Regions from separate parts of the Homo sapiens genome. Here region 2 is linked to region 1. Evidence: promoter capture Hi-C in 16 types of primary human blood cells and fetal thymus (Javierre and others, 2016). All regions are on one chromosome and are shown on one strand. The core of a region is centred on a gene start or on the middle of the fragment in contact, and the rest is flanking DNA. Distances in the headings are between cores, read along the strand shown.

The links. The method cuts DNA at HindIII sites, captures the fragments that hold promoters and counts their contacts. A CHiCAGO score of 5 or more calls a contact.
Region 2: a fragment that was not itself captured here is called in contact with the fragment with the promoter of CYYR1 in region 1 in 5 of 17 cell types (M0 macrophages, naive B cells, M2 macrophages and 2 more); the score reaches 8.0 in M0 macrophages.

What each region holds. Positions count from the first base shown.
Region 1 is chr21:26,570,132-26,575,412 of GRCh38, forward strand. It overlaps CYYR1 (cysteine and tyrosine rich 1), which reads right to left and starts at 3,155. Exons shown (of 4, transcript NM_001320768.2): 1 at 2,737-3,155. The coding sequence starts at 2,809. The HindIII fragment of the contact is 4,187 bases long and covers 1,358-5,281 here.
Region 2 is chr21:25,898,155-25,903,435 of GRCh38, forward strand. All of the region lies in intron 15 of APP (amyloid beta precursor protein), which reads right to left. Among named protein-coding and RNA genes, the nearest start is that of GABPA, 170 kb to the left of the region's middle. The HindIII fragment of the contact is 3,507 bases long and covers 908-4,414 here.

The DNA.
Region 1 (5,281 bases), core at 1,905-4,404:
ATACAGGAGCTTTTTCTCACTGGAGAAAGAACAGATCATTCCAATTTGTCTTCAGAAGATAAATAATATTACTTCTAATGTCCAAGTTAGTATCCCTGAAAATCAGCCAACTTAAACTTTCTTCAATGACTTTTTGCTGAAAGGTGTGGTCTGGAAGAAGGTTCCCCAACTCACCCCTGACTCCCAACTCACCCTGCCTCCCACCTTAAGGAATGCGCAGAACAGGAAAAGCAGTATCTGGCTTGAAGCACTTGCTTAGAAATGGCCCTTGCAAGCTATAGCTAAGATAAGAGAGGAAGGAAAGGGAGGAGACAGAAGTTACTGGCTGAGGCCCGGAAGGTAAAACCTTGACCGAATCCTGTCTTTGTAGCCTGCAGTGGGAGTCAGACAATAATATCAACACTTCACTGGGTCTCCTTCCAAAAGTAACTCTATAGTACAACATGATGCTTCAGGTATAGAAACCTTGCTCTTATTTGTTTAGCCAAATGAAATGTGAATCTAATGCATTTGCTTTGGGGAAAATAATTTAGATTATGAGCAGTGCATCTACTTAGATTTTTGTCCCACAAAGCTGGCAATTCATTTAATAGTATGAACTATTTTGACTTCTGTGGTGTTCCAGCATCTAACCTCAACCCTTACTTCTAGCCATACCTCTTAGTTCCAACCAAACTGAAATATCCTTTGTTGCATGTACAGATCTTGATTTTTGACTTTGATCACACGATATCCTACTATATCCCACTCCGTCTCGTTGGGTTCAGGGCGTCTATATTTTTCAAAGGTCTAGTTCCTTCAAGTCTTCTTCAATTCAGTTTTCCTGAGCAAATACTGATTGATCTTTTTGCTGAACAAAATAGACATTGTCCTCATGAAGCTTACTCTTTTAAGCCAGCAGTAAGACTTTCTTCTTTGAACATCTATAGCACGTGATTTTACCTCTCCTATGACACAACCTTTTATACCTTAAAGTAACTTATGATCATACCGTAGTTCCCAGAGAAGACTGATAAGAACATGACCTCTTACGGCTCAACATACCTCACTCAGTAAGTAATAGTTGAATGAATATGAAAAGCATAAAAAGGCCTCTGAATAACAAGTCCAGGAATTGACACCAAAGAGCTTATTAGCTAAACACTTCTTAGCAAAGATAGTAAGTCAACTTAGCACTGGCTTACAACTACTTTGTAGCTTATGATAGAGGGATTCCAAAGAAGAGAAATGAATGGACTGAAAACTTTCTAAACTAACCACCCTTGTTGCTGGCCAGCTTCGCTGATTTCCTGAGCCCTGAGGAGCTGGGCACCTAGCACTGGGGAAACAGGAGGAGGGGGCAGATGTGTAAAGCAGAAGCTTTCAGTTTACCACAGGGAATATAATAAACAAACAAACAAACAAACAAAATTGTGGTTCAATGGAGTGGTTGAATAAGTGTGAGTGAAAGTATTAAATATTGTCGAGCAGAGGAAGTGAAAAGCATAATTACTTCGAAAGAACTAATAAAGAGATTTTTTCAATAGAAAATGAATATTAATGCAGTTGACTCTGTTAATCCCTCAAATTCTGAAAACCTTATACAAATTTAATAAAAGAAATAAATGTTGTAAACAGATTAAATGTAATTCTCTTCATTAAATACGAAGAACTTATCCTACTTTTATGAATTTTCATATTAGAAGGTCAGCATTTTTCCTGCCATAAAACATCTTTAAAATGGTAACTCCTAGACAGCCACTAATTTGCATTTCAATAAACAGGCTAAAAATGTCTACAGAAGTTATGGTGACTCTTTTCTAGCAAGGTTGAATGAGAAATTCAATTCTTTTAATACTCAGGTGCAACACTGAAGAACATCATTTCAGTTGCAATATCTTTTTGAGTATCAAAGGTAAATTTCAGTGCTATATATACATTTCGTATTGGAGGCTCAGGGGTGAGCCTGCGATTTTTGTCATAGGACGTTAGAGACACAAAAACATTTTACAAAGAACTTTGCTTTTAGCTTGCATTGTTTTGTGAATATGAACTGATGCAAAGACCACGTGTGTAAGACACTTTATACCTGAATAACCAATGAAAGGCCATTTGGGGCTCCATATTAATCACAAACAAGAAAACCCACTTTGCTTCGTTAATTATTAGCAGTTCTTACTACGAATAATTAGAAGGGAAACCAGATGCCCTTCTCTTATAAACAAGTGTCTATCTAAATCAACGAACCTGTACAGATTAGACCCTGGGTGAATTCATGCTTCTCAAAAACCTTGTGTTTGACTTCAGTCCAATAGCTCAGTCTACCACACTTGTGAATCTCCCAAAGAACGAAAACAAAGCTCTAAGTTTTTTTTATTCACAAGAGGGAAAACCAGGACTATTTAGAAAGCAGAAGATGGAGAGGCCACTGCCTAGCCTATCCAGATAAGTTTATTTGGATATAGTTTACTCTATCCAGAGAGTCAAATCCCCTAAACACGAGACTGCTATTTCCAAGGTGGAAAGGGAAAGAAAAGAAATGCAAAAGGTAAAAGTTAAAGGAAAAGGAACAAAACAAAACCGCGTGCGGCTGGAAGTGCGCGGGTTTCTGCCGTCGCCTCGCGGAAAAGGCAGAAGCGTCTGCAAAGGTCCTTCTGCAAAGGTCCCGGTCCGTCCAGCTCAACCCACGTTAGCCCGGACCGTGACCCAAGGGCAGCCCCGAGCCTCTGACCCTCTCCGCCGCCCTCCGTCACTGACCTGCGTAGACAAAGAGCAGGACCAACTTCGGAAGCAAGACCCCTGGACGCACGGGTAGCCTCGGAGCGTCCATCCAAGCCGGTGGCCTGAGGCTTGGAGCGAAGGGAGAGCCCGGAACCGGAGGGAATGGGGAGGATGGAGGGCGATCAGATGGAGAGAGCAGCGCTCCTGAGAGCCGGGTGGAGCAGAGACCCGGCCATTGCCTAGGGAGCCTTCCAAGGGAGCCCGGGCCGGGCGCGTCCCGGGCCAGCGACTGCGGGACTCCGCGGAGCTGGGGCGCCCGTGGCCCGAGACGGGCTGCGCTGGGGGCCCAGGTCTCTTTGTCTCGCCCCACTGCGCTCAGGCGCGGGGAAGGCGGCCACTCCGGCGTCCTTGGCCACCCAGGCTCACATTTCATCTCCGCGGGTGGCAACGACTGCGGGCAGGGGGCGGGGGTGGCCCCGACTCCTCCCCAAGCCCGGGTTCTTCCTTCTAAAGAGTGACTAGGGGACCAAGAAACTTTTCCTAACCCCTTGCTTTGGCGATTGCTATGGAGTTCAGCCTGCTCCTTTTTAACCTTGCCTCCACTACAATTTTTCCTTTCTAAGCAATGGATGAACAACTTTGCTTTTTATCTTTAAACAAAGGGAAGGAATTTTCAGGGTTGAAGGTATTCGACAAAGAGTGACAGTGAAGAAAACTCAGGATTGGGAAGTACAGAAAGTGTATGGCATCTCTGCTGAAAGCTGATAAAATGTTTATTATTTTTTCCTGTAAATTCAGAAAAAAAAAACACAACAGTGCACACTGTCGTTATGATTTTGACGTTTTGGAGTTACTGGCCTATGCAATTAAACAAGAGAAAGAAAAAGATTTATGAAAAATGAAAGCTAAATTGTCATTAGCAAATGAAATACGTGTATACATGGAAAATCAAAGTTAATCAACTATAAAGCTCTTGTTTAGCAAACCAATAGTTTTCTTTCCTGCAAACAAAAATCAGAAAGTTCTCAATGTTATGCATGAAGGAAAAAAAATGATACGAATAAGTAAAGAGATACTTTTTTCACTAAGAAAATTTAGTAGGATAAAGACAACAAGATTCCCCAAATTATTATATACATTTGGAAATAAAATTGATCCCAATTTTTAAAATAACATGATTTTTTTCAAACCAATCTGATTCTAAAGTTTATATGGAAAATAAATATGTAAGAATATCTATTTAAAACAAGAGTAATGAATGGGAATAATGAATGGGATATTACATATAATATCACAATAATTAAAACAGTTTAGATTAACATTGGAATAGATAGGCTTAGTGAAAGAGAAAAGGTAACCCAAAAGTAGACATGAGTATGTACAGCAATTTAATTTATGGTTTAAAGAAATATCAATGTAAAGTAGTAGGGGAAATGATGAGTTACTCAGTGAAAAGTGTTGAGGCCGTAAATAGCCATCTGTGGAGCCTTATCTTTTTACATCAAAATCAGTTCTATATGAATTACATATTTAAGATACAACTATGAAAATATTAGATTAAAAAATAAGAGGATAACATTCAAATAATTGTGGAATAGGGAAGCCTTTTCTAAGCATTATAAAAAACTCAGAAACCATAAAACAAAATATTGACCAACTTGACTAAATAAGAATTAATACTTCCAGTTGGCAGACATTTAACTGGCAAAAATATTTGCAATGCAAAGTCCTAATCTCATTATTATACTGAGCTTAAAAAAATCAATAGGAAAAACAACCAAGAGATAACTGAGGAAGGATATTAATAGACACTTCATACAAAACAAATAAATATAAATATAGAAATAAAATTGACAGTGAGACATCACTTTTCATGTATCAAACCAACCAAATACAAAACCAAATGAACTCTTAAGGGAAACGGTGTGGTTATATGTACGAAAATTCAAATACACATGTACTTAATTTAGTCAGTTCTCTTCCAGGAATTTTTTCCTGTAAATGCAGTGCTGCAAGGGAATACGAGAGTGGGAGGAAACATCACCCCCAAAATAAACATAAGCTAAGCTCTTTACTGTGTTTTACACGTTGGTGAAGGCCCAACCATCCACCATGTTCTAAAGAAGGCTGATCAGTTCCACCTTTTTTCTCATCCTCGCTGGCCAATCTATCACCAAGTTCACCTAATCTGTCCACCTGAACACCACCCAAACGCATTTTAAATTATCATCTATTTCTGTCCTAATCTAGACTTTTATAGTCTTGATTATATTCAGCCTCCCTGCCTTCAGAGATGTTTGCCAGACTGAAGCTGGAATATTTCTTCTTAAACTACAGATTTCATCATGTTCACTCACTCAGTAGCATCCTGTTGCCCTTAGGTTAAAATTCAAACATTTAATCCAGGGTGTTCAAGAACTTGTTCACTAGGTCCTGTCATTCTTGTAGCCTGATCAAAACATTCCACTGGGAAGCACAATTTCTAAATAACTGGGACAATGGTTGGAACCTAGAGAAAATCCCAGGCATACAAGCCCTTTGAGTCTTGAAGGAAGAAGATACAGATGGAAGTCAGTGTTTG
Region 2 (5,281 bases), core at 1,411-3,910, 670 kb before region 1:
AAATTATGTTCATGTATCTATGCAGTGAAGCGTTGTAAAAATTATATAATTTTAGTCAAGTGTTCTAGTTACACAGATTGTAATTGGTTCGTCTGCTGAATAAAGAGCTATAGTACATAATTTTAAAAATGCTTCTTAGCAACTAACAGAATTTATAACCTACGAACTCTTCCTTTTCTATAAATTGCTATATGATTCTTAACACTAATTGTTCTGATGAATTTCATTATTCAAATAATAATTTGAAGCTTAAAACAAAATGCAGAGTCATTTAAAAACCAAAAACATAAGTAAAAAATGTAAATGTCAGTGTCCATGCTATAACATTTAATTATCAAACATCAGAATTTTAGGATGAAAAGGGCTTTTGAAGTCATCTTCTCTACCGTGTTCCCACCCAGGGGCAGATTGTCAGTTCCTGTTTGAACATAGAGGAATGTATCAATTTCCCTCCATTTTTTGATAGATTTGCCTGCCCAAACTGTCCTTTTTTTACATGAAGCCAGAATCAGCTTCCCTGTAACTTCCATCCTTTGAGCCTGATTCAACACAGAGCAAGCCTAATCCTCCCTTCCACATTAAAACCTTGAACAGGTATCACGACCCTAAGGAGAGGCATGTTCCTGCTGGTTCTTGTCTTACTTGGGCTACACATTCCCAATTCCTTTGGCTCCCAGGGGAATTCACTTCCTGCTCTTGGCCTAATCACTCTTTCAATCTTGTCTACGAGATTCTGGGAAACTTGTGACACATCTTGCTGACACTGAAAAGCACAATGTCCACAGCATATGATGTGCCAGTCTAAGAGCACAGCCTATACAAGGAGAAGGTAAGGATAATCTGACAAAACCTAGGAAATCCACGCTGGTTGTGACCTAGCACCATTTCCTCATCCAATTGTTCAAAAAGCTTCCACTTGATAACCTATTTGAAAAGAGACCCACAATCAATGTCACTCTATACCTGGCTTACAGATTGTGAAGCTATCTTCTCTCCTTTTTGCTATTCAGAACTTCATTTTCCTATCCCTACCTTCCCAGCTTTCCACAAAGACCACAGGCAATGGTGCTACTTCCCCTTCAAGTTCTCTTAGCCTGCAGTTGGTCTGGGTCATAAGAACTTGGACTTGGGTAGCAAGATGTCATAGTTTAAAATATATCCACAAATTTGCTGATACTCCTTCCTTCAAGAGGGAGAACTTGATTCCCTTCCTTCGAATGTGGTCGGGATGTAGTGACTTGCTCTAGTGAACAGAGCATGATAGAAGTGATGGTGTATGACTTCTGAGACTGGGCCAAAAAAGGCACTAAAACTTCCTTAATCTCTTTCCTGGACCTCTTGGTGCAGGGGTGCGAGATGCCATGTTGTAGGGACGCTCAAGCAGCATTACAGAGTTCACATGGTAAGATACTGAGGTCTCTTAGTAACAGTGACGTGAGTGAGCCACGTTGGAAACAGACCCACCAGGTCCAATCAAACCTTCAGATGACTTTAGCTCAGGCAGTGTCTTAACTGCAACCACATGACGGACACTGTGCCAGAACCATCCAGCTAAACCACATCCCAAATCCTGACCTATAAAAACTGTAAGAAACTAATGCTTGTTGTTTTAAGCTGCTAAATTCTCGCGTTATTTGCTACGTAGCAATAGGTAACTAATGGGCTAGGGCTTTCTTTTCTCATGTTGATCTATCTCGGGCTTTAATTTCCTTTCATCAGAAGTTCATTCTCTTTAATATAGACATAAAAGGCACAATGGAAGTGGGACAGTTTCCCTTTCTCATTCTTTAACTCTGGTCCTCTCAATGACCTAACCCTCAACCCCCAACTTCTTGCTACGAGACCCACAGAGTTCTCTATTCTTATTTATTTTCTTACTTTAATATTGTTAAGTATTTTTTGGTTAAGTTTCAACTCATTCTGCTGAAACGAACCTTTCTGACACTTATTTTTATAGGGTAGTGATGCTAAAACTCTCTTAATTCTCACTGGCTGTATATTTTAATCTTTCTATAGCCCTTTTAAATCTGAGATCCTTATATAACCAGTGATTTCTTTAGAGCTCACTCCTTTTCTGTTATTAAGATCTGGCAACGTGCCAAGCACGGTGGCTCACGCCTGTAATCCCAGCACTTTGGGAGGCCAAGCTGGGTGGATCACTTGAGGTCAGGAGTTTGAGACCAGCCTGGTCAACATGGTGAAACCCTGTCTCTACTAAAAATACAAAAAAAAAAAAAAAAAAAAAAAAAAAAAAATTAGCCAGGTGTGGTGGCGGGTGCCTGTAATCCCAGCTACTCCAGAAGGCTGAGGCATAAGAATCGCTTGAACCCGGCAGGTGGAGGTTGCAGTGAGCTGAGATTGTGCCACTGCACTCCAGCCTGGGTGACAGAATGAGACTCTGTCTCCAAAAATAAATAAATAAATAAAAGATCTAGCAACACAATAGGTTAGAACTATATTTCTGAGATTTTTAAGAAAACTTTCTTGAACAGTTTGAAGAGTCTTCCCTTTTAGATTTTGGAGCCAAATATTTATACTGAAAAATAAAAGTAAAGAATGAGCTCTGGCCGGGCACAGTGGCTCACACCTGTAATCCCAGCACTTTGGGAGGCCGAGGCGGGAGGATCACGAGGTCAAGAGATCAAGACCATGGTGAAACCCCGTCTCTACTAAAAATACAAAAAATTAGCCGGACGTGGTGGCAGGCACCTGTAGTCCCAGCTACTAGAGGCTTAGGCAGGAGAATGGTGTGAACCCAGGAGGCAGAGCTTGCAGTGAGCCGAGATTCGTGCCACTGCACTCCAGCCTGGGCGACAGAGTGAGACTCCATCTCAAAAAAAAAAAAAAAAAGAATGAGCTCTCGGCCAGGTGCAGTGACTCATGCCTGTAATCCCAGCCTTTGGGAGGCTGAGGCGGGCAAACAGTTTGAACTCAGGAGTTCGAGACCAGCCTAGCCAATATGGCAAAACTCTGTCTCTACTAAAAATACAAAAATGAGCCAGGTGTGGTGGCACATCCCTGTAATCCCAGCTGCATGGGAAACTTAGGTGGGAGGATAGCTTTAGCCCAGGAAATGGGGGTTGCAGTGAGCTGGTATCATGCCACTGTTCTCCAGCCTGGAAACAGAGACAAATCCTGTTTTAAAAAAAAAAAAAAAAAAAAAACAAAACCAAGAGCTCTCCACTAAAAACTTTACAAGCCCACACTACTTTTGAAATGATACTGTGAATACTTTTGGTGGTCCAAAAAAAAAAATTCATATTATCAAGTCAGCATGACAGATAAATTCATGTTTACAGCTCAATAGTTTGAGAAGCTCTTGGCAGAAGAGCTCTTGCTATAATAGTTCATGTTTGTTTAGCATGAATAGTCATCTAGGGAAGACTTTTTACATTAAGCAAATCTTACTAAAAGACAAAATCAGTAAGCTGGCACATAGGGAAATATTCATAATAAGGTGATAATGCATGTAATAAAATGTGATGAGTAGTTTCAAATAAATGGCAGGGACCTTGGTTTGCAGGCTTACTTAGAGGTCTTTCTTGAGTTGTGCTGATTTCACCCTAAGCCCTGGTGACTCCAGCTCTCTCTTCCTGTAAGTCATGATGAGTGGACAGAGCCTTTTGTTCATGTGGGGGCTAAGGGAGGTATGTCCTTCATGACACCTCTTGCATGGCTCGGGTCAAGGACCTGGTTTCCCTTTATTTGGACTGCAGAAGGGTGGTGATGAATTGTAACAGAAAGGGTAGCTTTCTACCCTATGTGAAGAGCTCGCTAATGTGTTTTTCTTTTTTATTCTGGTCAAACTGTATAATTAGTCCTTCAGAGTCTATTTTTTCTTTGGAAGTAAGCCAGGAGGAGGAGCTATAATGGCCACTATGCCCCCAAATCACCACTGTTATTACAATGGTCCCTACTTGACACTGCATGCTGGAAGCTACCATATTCTGTTTTTTTAGATATGAGAGTTAAGGAGAAGCCATTTTCCTCAGTCATGATTATAAAGCACTGGGTGGGGGAAAAACAAAAACCTTTTTTTAACTTGTTTCTGAGGACAACAGTGATTATTCAAAAACAATGCCATCACTTGAACGGCATGACAATCTTGGGAAGGCTTTCTAAGTTTGGAAAGGCTAAAGATATAATTCGGCACATTAGACTCAAGTGGGTGGTCTCTAAAATGTGAAGAAGAACCAAAGCTATGCTACAAAACACGGGGAAATTAGCCCAAATGTTTGATAAACTTACTACAAGCACAAAAACAGAACACACGCATGGCTTAATACATGTGCAGTAAATACTGCTATTCATAGACAAACCTTAACTAGAATCTTCCTCACTTCATATCTGAGCATTCTTTCTCAACTTTAGCCATCTTACTGGGCAACCCAAGCCTACGCTGTGTATGAAAGGAAGCTTGGCTTAGGCCACCCTCTCTTCTGAATAGAATTGTTCCCTTCTTCTTTGCCAATCCAGGTGCCTCAAATCTTTCATAACCTCTCTGGAAGCCCATCTCCAGTAAGTTCTCTACTTAACATGCCCCTGGGTTAGTACTCCATCTCCTCCCATCACAGAACATTCTTGTTAGCACTTAATGTTGCTTTGTATTTCCTTGTCTTCCAAATTCCATCTCATGTTTCCAAATATGCAAAATTCCTTCTATTATACCTCAAGCTCCTGAGAGCAGGGACCCTACCGTTTAATTTCTTTCAAACCTAGAAAGAATTTAGTGGATTGATCTTTGTGAAATCCCCAAGTGACATCATATTCTTACTGTTATGAGAAAGGTTTTGGATGGTTTTCTCCCACCAGTGTAATACCATTAACTATTCTCTAGCTCTTCCTTTAAAACACACTGTTTTTGTTTGACAGCGTTTGGAGGTGTCCTTTTTGTTAGATTTAGATTAAAAAAAATTTTTTTTAAAAGAATAGGCCGGGCATGGTGCTTATGCCTGTAATCCCAGCACTTTGGGATGCCGAGGTGGGTGGATCACCTGAGGTCAGTAGTTCGAGACCAGCCTGGCCAACATGGTGAAATCCCGTCTCTACTGAAAATACAAAAAAATTAGCTGGGCATGGTGGGGCGCATCTGTAGTCCCAGCTACTTGAGAGGCTGGGGCACAAGAATTGCTTGAACCCCCGAGGCAGAGGTTGCAGTGAGTTGAGATCGTGCCACTCCACTCCAGCCTGGGGGACACAGCGAGACTCCATCTCAAAAAAAAAAAAAAAAAATCAAAAAACAATTTTTTTAAAAAAGAAAAAAACATTGACTGGTAGTGTC